3 separate regions of the Homo sapiens genome follow, and all the other regions are linked to region 2. Evidence: promoter capture Hi-C in human tissues and cell types (Jung and others, 2019). All regions are on one chromosome and are shown on one strand. The core of a region is centred on a gene start or on the middle of the fragment in contact, and the rest is flanking DNA. Distances in the headings are between cores, read along the strand shown.

What was found. The method cuts DNA at HindIII sites, captures the fragments that hold promoters and counts their contacts. A contact is called where the count stands out against the background at its distance.
Region 1: the fragment with the promoter of TJP3 here is called in contact with the fragment with the promoter of ZFR2 in region 2 in 1 of the 25 tissues and cell types used here (IMR-90 fibroblasts).
Region 3: a contact is called between a fragment that was not itself captured here and the fragment with the promoter of ZFR2 in region 2, in 1 of the 25 tissues and cell types used here (neural progenitor cells).

What each region holds. Positions count from the first base shown.
Region 1 is chr19:3,706,490-3,710,011 of GRCh38, reverse strand. TJP3 (tight junction protein 3) reads right to left here and starts at 1,628. Exons shown (of 21, transcript NM_001267560.2): 1 at 1,451-1,628. RefSeq lists enhancers at 1-22, 858-1,519, 1,520-2,183. The HindIII fragment of the contact is 5,666 bases long and covers 641-3,522 here.
Region 2 is chr19:3,867,716-3,871,327 of GRCh38, reverse strand. ZFR2 (zinc finger RNA binding protein 2) reads left to right here and starts at 2,290. Exons shown (of 19, transcript NM_015174.2): 1 at 2,290-2,363. The coding sequence starts at 2,311. It also overlaps the pseudogene FTLP5. RefSeq lists an enhancer at 1-203. The HindIII fragment of the contact is 14,046 bases long and covers 1-3,612 here.
Region 3 is chr19:3,996,569-4,000,170 of GRCh38, reverse strand. No RefSeq gene overlaps it. Among named protein-coding and RNA genes, the nearest start is that of PIAS4, 9.4 kb to the left of the region's middle. RefSeq lists an enhancer at 687-1,332. The HindIII fragment of the contact is 5,265 bases long and covers 1-3,602 here.

The DNA of each region.
Region 1 (3,522 bases), core at 379-2,878, 160 kb after region 2:
ATATTCGGCTCATTTTTTGTATTTTTAGTAGAGACAGGGTTCCACCATGTTGGCCAGGCTGGTCTCGAACTCCTGACCTTGTGATCCACTCGCCTCGACCTCCCAAAGTGCTGGGATTACAGGCGTGAGCCACCGCGCCCGGCCCTCAATATCCCCATTTTACAGAGCAGGAAACAGAGGCCCGGAGAGAAGGGAGGTGTGGAAGCCAGATCTAACTGAGTCCACGGGTTTGCTCTCAAAACCCAGGCAAGGTGGGATCCATGTCGCCCACCCCCACGGACTCCCGAATCTCAAGCAAGCCTGCTCCCTGGGAGCTCTGCAGCCACACAGCCACAAGGTGACCCCAAATGCCGGGCCGCTCTGTCCCCCACTATGCGATCATCCATGCCTCCTCGGCCCCGGGGGACCCTCTTGGTTCTGGAGAGAGACTTGAGATGCAATCGGACACTTGGCTCACGAGGAAGCTCCCTTGGTCTTCCCATTTGGGAGCAAATGACCCAGAAAAACACTTTTGCTGCCGACCCCTCCCCTCTCTGGCTCTGAGCGCTCCTTCCTCCTTCCCCTCTGCCCCATCCCACAGAGATTTTGCTCGGAGGAGTAAAGATTAGAAAAAGAAGTCTGGGCGCAGTGGCTTGCGCCTGTAATCCCAGCACTTTGGGAGGCCGAGGGGGTTGGATCACCTGAGGTCAGGAGTTCGAGACCAGCCTGGCCAACATGGTGAAACCCCATCTCTACTAAAAATACAAAAATTAGCTGGGCATAGTGGTGGGCGCTTGTAATCCCAGCTACTCGGGAGGCAGAGGTGGAGGCAGAGGTTGCAGTGAGCCAAGATCGCACCACTGCACTCCAGCCTGGGCAACAAGAGCAAAACTCCGTCTCAAAAAAAAAATTAGCAAAAGAAAGGCCACCCCAATCCCTCCCTGCAAAGCTCCTGGAGGTTCCAGCGGTGAGAACAGGGTGAGGGGTTGGGGGGCGGGAGACGCAGTTGTTTCAAAACTTGGGAGCCTTTTAAGAAGTTCCAGGAGGCTCAGAGATGAGTGAGGTCGCAGCCTTTCCCACCTGTCACCTCCTAGCCTCGGGCTGCAGGAGGTAAACCCAGGCTCCGTCTGGACTGATATCCCCTCCCCTCCTCAGTTAGGGGGATCAGAGACCAACCTGTGCCCCTTTGCCGCCTCCCCGGTCCCTGCGCCACCTAGGTAACAATGACCCTTTTAAGTTTCCAGCTCAGCGTCCTGGGCAGGCCGCCAGGTGCAGTAACTGCCGGTCAGATAATCCCTACGAAACTATGTCAGATGCCCACGCAGGAGTGTCAGTTTCCTGCTTTCCGAGGAGCCGGGGAGACAGCTCGTGGTGGGGGAGGTTGGGGGGGAGTCTAAGGACCCTCAGCTGGGGAAGGCCAGCTCAGACAATGCACACTGGGTGGAAAAGCACAGTGGGGCGGGGGACTTACCTGTCTAGGAGGCTGGGTGGCCTCTGGGCAGGCAGCAGGTGCCAGGGCCCGGGTGCCTGCCTGGCACGGGTGGTGGGGAGGGAACCCGAGGCTTGTAGCTCTGGCCTCCCCACCTGTTTGACCAACTTTTCCTCTCTTGTGGTGGCAACAGGGAGGCAGGTCCCCTGCCAGTGGAACTGACGACCACAGACACAGGGAGACGGACCAGGGTGAGGGGCGGGCCAGCAGGAGGACTGGGTGTGTGGCTCTGTCGCAAGGTGCCCTCACGTGGGAGCAACTGGCCTTAACCCCTGCTTGCCCAGAGGTGAGCTTGCTCCTGCCTGTGCCCTCACCGCCGAGGCCCTGGTATCAAGCGTCCGCACATGGTAGGTGCTTAGGAAACCCTCGTTGGCTACATTCAGACATGAATGGACCGCACTCCCGGAGTCCCCCTCCCTCCTGCTTCTTGCATCTGGAGCTGCCCAGTCTCTGTGCTTGCTGAGCCTCCTGCCAGGCACGCCGGCCCATCAGGCTGTGGCTTGGCGCACTCCCTTCCCCACGCAGATCTGTGCGCAGTCTGCCTCTCTGCTACGAAGTGACTGGGTTCCTACGTACAGAAGCTTCTGCCACTTCCCCGCTGTGTGGCTTTGGGCAAATTACAGGGGCTTCTTGCTGTCCTCATCTAAAAAACAAGAAAGGGTCAGGTGTGGTGGCTCACACCTGTAATTCCAGCACTTTGGGAGGCCGAGGTGGGAGGATCACTTGAGCCTGGGAATTTGAGACCAGCCTGGGTAACACGGTGAAACCCATCTCTAGAAAAATTTTTATATATCTTTTGTTTGTTGTTTGTTTTGAGATGGAGTCTCCCTCTGTCACCCAGGCTGGAGTGCAGTGGCGCGATCTCGGCTCACTGCAACCTCCGCCTCCTGGGTTCAAGTGATTCTTCTGCCTCAGCCTCCCAAGTAGCTGGGATTACAGGCGTGCACCACCACGCCCAGCTAATTTTTTTTTTTTTTTTCAGTAGAGACGGGGTTTTCCTATGTTGGCCAGGCTGGTCTCAAACTCCTGACCTCAAGTGATCTGCCCGCCTCGGCCTCCCAAAGTGTTGGGATTACAGGCGTGAGCCACCGAGCCTGGCCTAGAAAAGTTTTTTTGTTGTTGCTGCTGGCTGTTGTTGGTTTTGTTTTGTTTTTTGTTTTTATTTTATTTTTTTTTTATTTTTTTGAGACAGAGTCTTGCTATGTTGCCCAGGCTGGAGTGCAATGGCTTGATCTCGGCCCACTGCAACCTTTGCCTCCCGGTTTCAAGTGATTCTCCTGCCTCAGCCTCCCGAGTAGCTGGGATTGCATTACAGGCACCAGCCATCATGCCCAGCTAATTTTTGTATTTTTGTAGAGACGGAGTTTCACCATATTGGCCAAGCTGGTCTTGAACTCCTGGCCTCAGGTGATCCGCCTGCCTTGGCCTCTCAAAGTGCTGAGATTACAGGCGTGAGCCACCACGCCCAGCCCAGAAAACTTTTTTAAAAATTAGCCAGATGTGGTGGTACACACCTGTAGTCCCAGAAACTCAGGAGGCTGAGGTGGGAGGATCAATTGACCCTGGGAGGTTGAGGCTGCAGAGAGCTATGACTGTGCCACTGCACTCCAACCTGGGTGACAGAGCAAGATCCTATCTCAATAAAATAAAATTAACCAGGAAGGGTTGGGCATGATGGCTCACACCTATAATCTCAGTACTTTGGAGGCCAAGGTGGCAGGATCACTTGAGGCCAGGAATTCGAGACCAGTCTGGGCAACATAGTGAGACACCCCCCCATCTTTACCAGTACATTAAAATTAAAATTTAAAAAATTAAGTCTGGGCTCAATGGCTCACCCCTGTAATCCCAGCACTTTGGGAGGTTGAGGTGGGAGAATTGCTTGAGTTAGGAGTTCGAGACCAGCCTGGCCAACATGGTGAAACCCCATCTCTACTAAAAATACAAAAATTAGCCGGGCAAGGTGGCATGCGTCTGTAATCCCAGCTACTCAGGAGGCTGAGACGGGAGAATCGCTTGAGCCCCAGAGGCAGAGGTTGCAGTGAGCCGAGATC
Region 2 (3,612 bases), core at 1,041-3,540:
CATCCTGGCTAACACGGTGAAACCCCGTCTCTACTAAAAATACAAAAAAATTAGCCAGGCGTGGTGGTGGGCGCCTGTAGTCCCAGCTACTCGGGAGGCTGAGGCGGGAGAATGGCGTGAACCTAGGAGGCGGAGCTTGCAGTGAGCAGAGATCGCACCACTGCACTCCAGCCTGGGCGACAGAGCCAGACTCCGTCTCAAAAAAAAAACAAGCAAAAAAAAAAAAAAAAAAACCCGCAGAGGGAGGAGGTGTAGGAGGCCCGCAGGTGCAAACTGACCAGGCGGTTGACGGCTGCCTCCACCGCGGTGGAATAATTCTGACGAATCTGGGAGCTCATGGTTGGTCGGCAAGAAGGAGCTAACCAAAAAAACGGCGTTGGTTGGTCCGAGAAGCAGGAGATGGCTGAGCCGATGCTCCTGGAGGTTGCAAGAAGAGAGGAAATCAGCGGGTGGTCGGAGGCTGGAAGTGAGTTCCCGGATCTGTTCCATCCAAACACTGTGGAAGCAAGAGACGGATCCGCGGGACCGCCAAACACGCTGCTGCTTGTCAGGTTTCAATACTGTCAAGTGACTCTCCCTCCCCCTCCTTCCAGGCTGCAGTCTTGGGAAGGAAGTCACTATGCACAACCCACACTCAAGAGGTGTAGAGTTACTCTCTATCTCCTTAAGCGCAGTGTAGCTACACAAATTAGGAATTCTTCTGCATAAGAGATTTGTCTGTTTGCCTCCATTTATTTGTTTATTCATTCAATTCTTTCTCTCTCTCTCTCTCTCTCTCTTCTTTCCTTCCCTTCCCTCCCTCCCTGCTCCTCTCCCTCTCCTCTTTTATTATTTATTTATTTATTTTTTTATTTTTTATTTTTTTATTTTTTTGAGACGGTGTATTGCTCTGTTGCCCAGGCTGGAGTACAGTGGTGTGATCTCGGCTCGCTGCATCCTCCACCTCCTGGGTTAGGTAATTCTCCTGCCTCAGCCTCCCGAGTAGCTGGGATTACAGGTGTGCCCCACCACGCCTGGCTAATTTTTTTTTTTGTATTTTTAGTAGAGACAGGGTTTTGCCATGTTGGCTAGGCTGCTCTTGAACTCCTGACCTTGGGTGAGCTGCCCACCTCGCCTTCCCAAAGTGCTGGGATTACAGGCGTGAGCCACCACGCCCAGCCCTTTCTTTCTTTTCTCTTTTTTGAGACAGGGTCTCACTCTGGAGTGCAGTGGTACAGTCACAGATCACTGCAGCCTTGACAGCCCAGGCTCAAGTGATCCTCCCACCTTAGCCTCCTGAGTAGCTGGGACCACAGGCATGTACCACCATGACCAGCTAATTAAAAAAAAATTGTAGAAACAGGGTCTTGCTATGTTGCCCAGGCTAGTCTCAAAGTCCTAGGGCTCAAGATCCTCCTGCCTCCGCCTCTCAAAATGTTGGGATTACAGACGTGAGCCACTGTGCCCGGCCTATCATTTATTTATATCACGTTGTGAACACAGGAGGCAGAGACCATGGGGGCCTTCTGAAGAGTCATTCTGAGGCTAGATGCAGTGGCTCACGTCTGTAATCCCAGCACTTTTGGAGGCCAAGGCAAGATTATTTGAGGCCAGGAGTTCAACATCAGCCTGGGCAACATAGCAAGACACTGTCTCTACAAAAAATTTAAAAATTAGCTGGCTGTGGTGGTGGTGGGGCTTGAGCAGAGACCTCCACATCTGAGTGGTTAAAGAGAAGGTGGGGCTCGGAGACAGAGGTAGGGCTTGTGCAGAGACCATATCTGAGCAGGTAAAGGGAAGGCGGGGCTCCGAGAAAGAGGCGGGGCTTGTGGCATGGGTGGGGCTTGAGCAGAGACCTCCACACCTGAATGGTTAAAGGGAAGGTACGGTTCCAAAAAAAGGCGGGGCTTGTGGCATGGGTGGGGGTTGAGCAGAGATCACATCTGAGTGGGTAAAGGGAAGGCAGGGCTCTGAGTAAGAGGCGGGGCTTGTAGCATGGGCGGGACTTGATCAGATACCACCACATCTGAGTGGTTAAAGGGAATGTGGGGCTCCGAGAAAGAGGCAGGGCTTCTAGCATGGGCGGGGCTTGAGCAGAGACCTCCACATTTGAGTGGTTAAGAGGAGGGCGGGGCTCTGCGTAGGAGGCGGGGCCTCGGGGCAGGTGTGGTCGCGGGGCGGTGTCTCCCTAGCCTAAGAGAAGGAAGCGAGAAGGTGAGGGCTTCGCGCAGGGGGCGGAGCTTGGGGCGCGTGGCCAGGCGCGAGCGGCACGCGGCTCGGGGGCGGGGCGGGTGACGTCGCGGGTCCGCCAGGCTCGGGGAAGACGCCAAGATGGCGACGAGTCAGTATTTCGACTTCGCGCAGGGCGGCGGCCCGCAGTACAGGTAACTGCCCCGCCGCGCCAGCCCCCGCCAGTCCCGGCCCCTGCAGCCTGGCCGGGACCCCGCCTACCCCTTCTCCCGCCGCGTGCGCCCGGCCCGGCCCCAGTCCCAGCCCCAACCTGGAACCCCGGCCTGAGGGAAGCCGCGGCGCCGGGAGAAGCAGGCGGGGCGGCCTCAGGTTAGGCACCGGGCGGGATGCGGGCTCCGGGGCTCCGGCTGAGACGTCTCTGCAGCCAACGGTGTCTGTCGGCGGGAGCGGGAGGGGGCTCCTGAAGTGGGAGGGGGCCTGGGTTTGGGCCTGGGCCTGTGCGGGGTCGGGGGGGTCAGCCCCTGATGGGGGCGCCACGAGGAGGGCAGCGAGAGGGGACAGACCCGGGCGGGGGGTGGGTGGTCTGACCGAGGAGGGGAGGGGACGGAACTGACCCAATGCAGGGAGGAGACCTGGGAGGTGCCTGGCCGGGGAGTGGGTGGGGATGGGCAGAGGGGAGCTGACCCCTGATTGCTGGTAGGGGAAGAGAAGACACAGACCTAGGAGGGTGTCTGGCTGGGCAGGAGGAGGGGAAGGGCAGAGGGGCATTGACCCCCGATTGCGGGGGGAGGAGAAGACACAGACCTGGGAGGGTGCCTGGCCGGGCAGGGGGATGGACAGAGGGTAGCTGACCCCCGATTACTTGTAGGGGAGGAGAAAACAGAGATCAGCGAGGGTTCCTGGCTGGGCAGGAGGAAGCCACAGTCGAGGGGTGAGGAATTGGCCCCTGATGGGGGTAAGAGAGAAGACAGAAACCTGGGAGGGTGTCTGGCTGGACAGGGGGAGAGCTAGAGCGGAGCTGACCCCGATTGCTGGTAGGGGGAGAGAATTCAGACCTGGGAGGGTGTCTGGCTGGGCAGGAGGAGGGGAAGGGCAGAGGGGCGTTAATCCCCGATTGCTGGAGGAGGAGAAGGCAGAGACCTGGGAAGTTTCCCGACTGGGCAGGGGGCAGCAACATTCGAGTGTGGAGGGCACTGACCCCTGATGGTGGGGGTAGGAGAGAAGGCAGAGACCTGGGAGGGTACCTAGCAGGCAGGGGCAGAGACCTGGGGTGGGGTGTGGAGTAGGGGTGGGAACCTGACCCCTGATGTGGGGTGGAGGAGAGAAGACAGAGACCTGGGAGGTTACCCCAGGGAGGGGCGGAAACCGAGGTTGGTGGGGAACTGAGGCCTGACTGGGGAAGGGGGACAGAGACTTGGCGGGAAGCCAGTATTATGTGGGAGG
Region 3 (3,602 bases), core at 1,102-3,601, 130 kb before region 2:
TGCAAACGTTTTCTGTAGAGATCCAGGAAATAACTATTTTCTGCTTTTGGACCACATATAATGTCTAGAGCAATTACTCAACTCTGCCATCTAAGGGCAAAAGAAACCGTAGACTATAAATAAACAAATCAGCATGGCTGGCCGGGAGCGGTGGCTCACGCCTGTAATCCCAGCACTTTGAGAGGCCGAGGCAGGCGGACCATGAGGTCAGGAGTTTGAGACCAGCCTGGCCAATATGGTGAAACCCCATCTCTACTAAAAATACGAAAATTAGCAGGGCGTGGTGGTGCACACCTATAGTCCCAGCTACTTGGGAGGCTGAGGCAGGAGAATCGCCTGAACCGGGAGGCGGAGGTTGTGGTGAGCCGAGATCACACCACTGCACTCCAGCCTGGCCGACAGAACGAGGCTCCGTCTCAAAAAAGAAAAGAAAAGAAAAAAGAAAAACAAATGAGCATGGCTGTGTGCTAGTAAAACTTTATTTTATTTTATTTATTTATTTATGACAAAGTCTTGCTCTGTTGCCCAAGCTGGAGTGCAGGGGCCTGATCTCGGTGCACTGCAACCTCCGCCTCCCAGGTAAAAAAGATTTTCCTGCCTCAGCCTCCTGAGTAGCTGAGTCTACAGGCGCACGCCACCAGGCCCAGCTAATTTTTGTATTTTTAGCAGAGACGGGGTTTCACCATGTTGGCCAGGCTGGTCTTTTTTTTTTTTTTTTTTTAGTATTCATTGATCATTCTTGGGTGTTTCTCGGAGAGGGGGATTTGGCAGGGTCATAGGACACTAGTGGAGGGAAGGTCAGCAGATAAACATGTGAACAAGGGTCTCTGGTTTTCCTAGGCAGCGGACCCTGCGGCCTTCCGCAGTGTTTATGTCCCTGGGTACTTGAGATTAGGGAGTGGTGATGACTCTTAACGAGCATGCTGCCTTCTAGCATCTGTTTAACAAAGCACATCTTGCACCGCCCTTAATCCATTTAACCCTGAGTGGACACAGCACATGTTTCAGCACGGGGTTGGGGGTAAGGTTATAGATTAACAGCATCCCAAGGCAGAAGAATTTTTCTCAGTACAGAACAAAATGGAGTCTCCTATGTCCACTTCTTTCCACACAGACAGCGTAACAATCTGACCTCTCTTTCTTTTCCCCACATTTCCCCCTTTTTCTATTCGACAAAACCGCCATCGTCATCATGGTCTGCTCTCAATGAGCTGCTGGGTACACCTCCCAGACGGGGTGGCGGCCGGGCAGAGGGGCTCCTCACTTCCCAGACGGGGCGGCCGGGCAGAGACGCCCCCCACCTCTCGGACGGGGCGGCTGGCCGGGCGGGGGCTGCCCCCCACCTCCCTTCCGGACGGGGCAGCTGGCCGGGCGGGGGCTGCCCCCGGCCAGGCTGGTCTTGAACTCCTGACCTCGAGTGATCTGCCCTCCTGGACCTCCCAAAATGCTGGGATTACGGGTGTGAACCACTGAGCCAGGCCTGTATGCTAGTAGAACTTCATAAACACAGAAATTTCAATCTTACGTATTTTCACATGTCATGTTATTATTATGCTTTTGTTTGAACATTTAAAAGAGAAAGAAGGCCGGGTGCTGTGGGTCGGGTGTGTAATCCCAGAACTTTTGGAGATCCAGGCAGGAGGACTGCTTGAACACAGGATTTCTACACCAGACTGAGCAACATAATGAGATCCTCTCTCTGCAAAAAATAAAAAATTAAGTAGGCATGGTGGTGCACGCCTACAGTCTTACCTACTCAGGTGGATGGCTTGAGCCCAGGAGTTCCAGGCAGCAGTGAACCGTGATTGTGTCACTGCACTCCAGCCTGGGTGACAGAGAGAGACTCTGTCTCAAAAGTAATAATAATAATAATAATAATAATAATACGCTGGGCGCAGTGGCTCATGCCTGTAATCCCAGCACTTTGGGAGGCCGAGGCGGGCAGATCACGAGATCAGGAGATCGAGACCATCCTGGCTAACACGGTGAAACCCCGTCTCTACTAAAAATACAAAAAATTAGCCGGGCATGGTGGCGGGCGCCTGTAGTCCCAGCTACTCGGGAGGCTGAGGCAGGAAAACGGCGTGAACCCGGGAGGCGGAGCTTGCAGTGAGCCGAGATTGTGCCACTGAACTCCAGCCTGGTTACAGAGCGAGACTCAAAAAAAAAAAAAAAAAAAGATTAGGGCTGAGGGCTGTAGCTTGCTAGTCTTTGTTAGAGATGCTCAGACACAGTGGTGACCACAACAGGCAAAATTCCCTGTCCTCGTGGAACTGGCATTCCAGGAGGGAGATCAACAACAAACAAAATCAAAAGCTAATTAAAGGTCCCGGCGTGGTGGGTCACGCCTGTAATCCCAGCACTTTGGGAGGCTGACATGGGCGGATCACCTGAGGCCCAGAGTTCGAGACCAGCCTGGCCAAGATGGTGAAAACCCATCTCTACCAAAAATAAAAATTTAGCTGGGCGTGGTGGCACACGCCTGTAGTCCCAGCTACTTGGGAGGCTGAGGCAGGAGAGTCACTTGAACCCGGAAGGTGGAGCTTGCAGTGAGCCGAGATGGCACCACTGTACTCCAGCCTGGGCAACAGAGGGAGACTCCATCTCAAAAAAAAAAAAAAAGGCTAAATACAGAACATGTTCAGACACTGATGGGAGGTAGACAGACAAGAAAGAGGAGAGGGAGGCTATGGAAAATCCCCACACGACCAATTTAAAGCTTTACAGCCTGTTTTAGGACAGAATTCATCAGTTCTAAATCAGATCCTTTGCAATTCTGACAAAATTCACAAACCACCTCCACTGTTATGTAAGATACATAGAGATAGATGGAGAGAGGTAGATATAGATACAGATAGTTACTCCCGTTTTGCACTTAAGTAAATGGAGTTGTTTCCTGGGCAAAAATACCTATGAGCTGGGCGCGGTAGCTCAAGCTTGTAATCCCAGCACTTTAGGAGGCCGAGGCGGGTGGATCATGAGGTCAGGAGTTTGAGACCAGCCTGGCCAACATGGTGAAACCCTGTCTCTACTAGAAATACAAAAAAAATTACTGGGGCGTGGTGGCACGCACCTGTAATCCCAGCTACTCAGGATGCTGAGGCAGGAGAATCTCTTGAACCTGGGAGACAGAGGTTGCAGTGAGCCGAGATGAGGACACTGCACTCCAGCCTCGGTGACAGAAGGAGACTCCATCTTTACCAAAAAAAAAAAGTATCAAATTGTGAATTTGGTGTTAGCTGAATATTAAAAGCATCTTAAATTTAAATAAAGTTGTGTGCACGTTTGTATATATGTATTTCAAAACATAGCAATGTATTATCACAATTGATTGCATTTTCTGGCTCTAAAACAGATTGTAGGCCAGGCACAGTGGCTCACTCCTGTAATCCCAGCATTTTGGGAGGCCGAGGCAGGAGGATCACCTGAGGTCAGAAGTTTGAGACCAGCCCACGCAACATGGTGAAACCCCTGTCTCCACTAAAAATACAAAAATTAGCCGGGCATAGTGGCACACACCTGTAATTCCAGCTACTCAGGAGGCTGAGACAGGAGAATCGCTTTAACCCGAGAGGCAGAGGTTGCAGTGAGCTGAGATCATG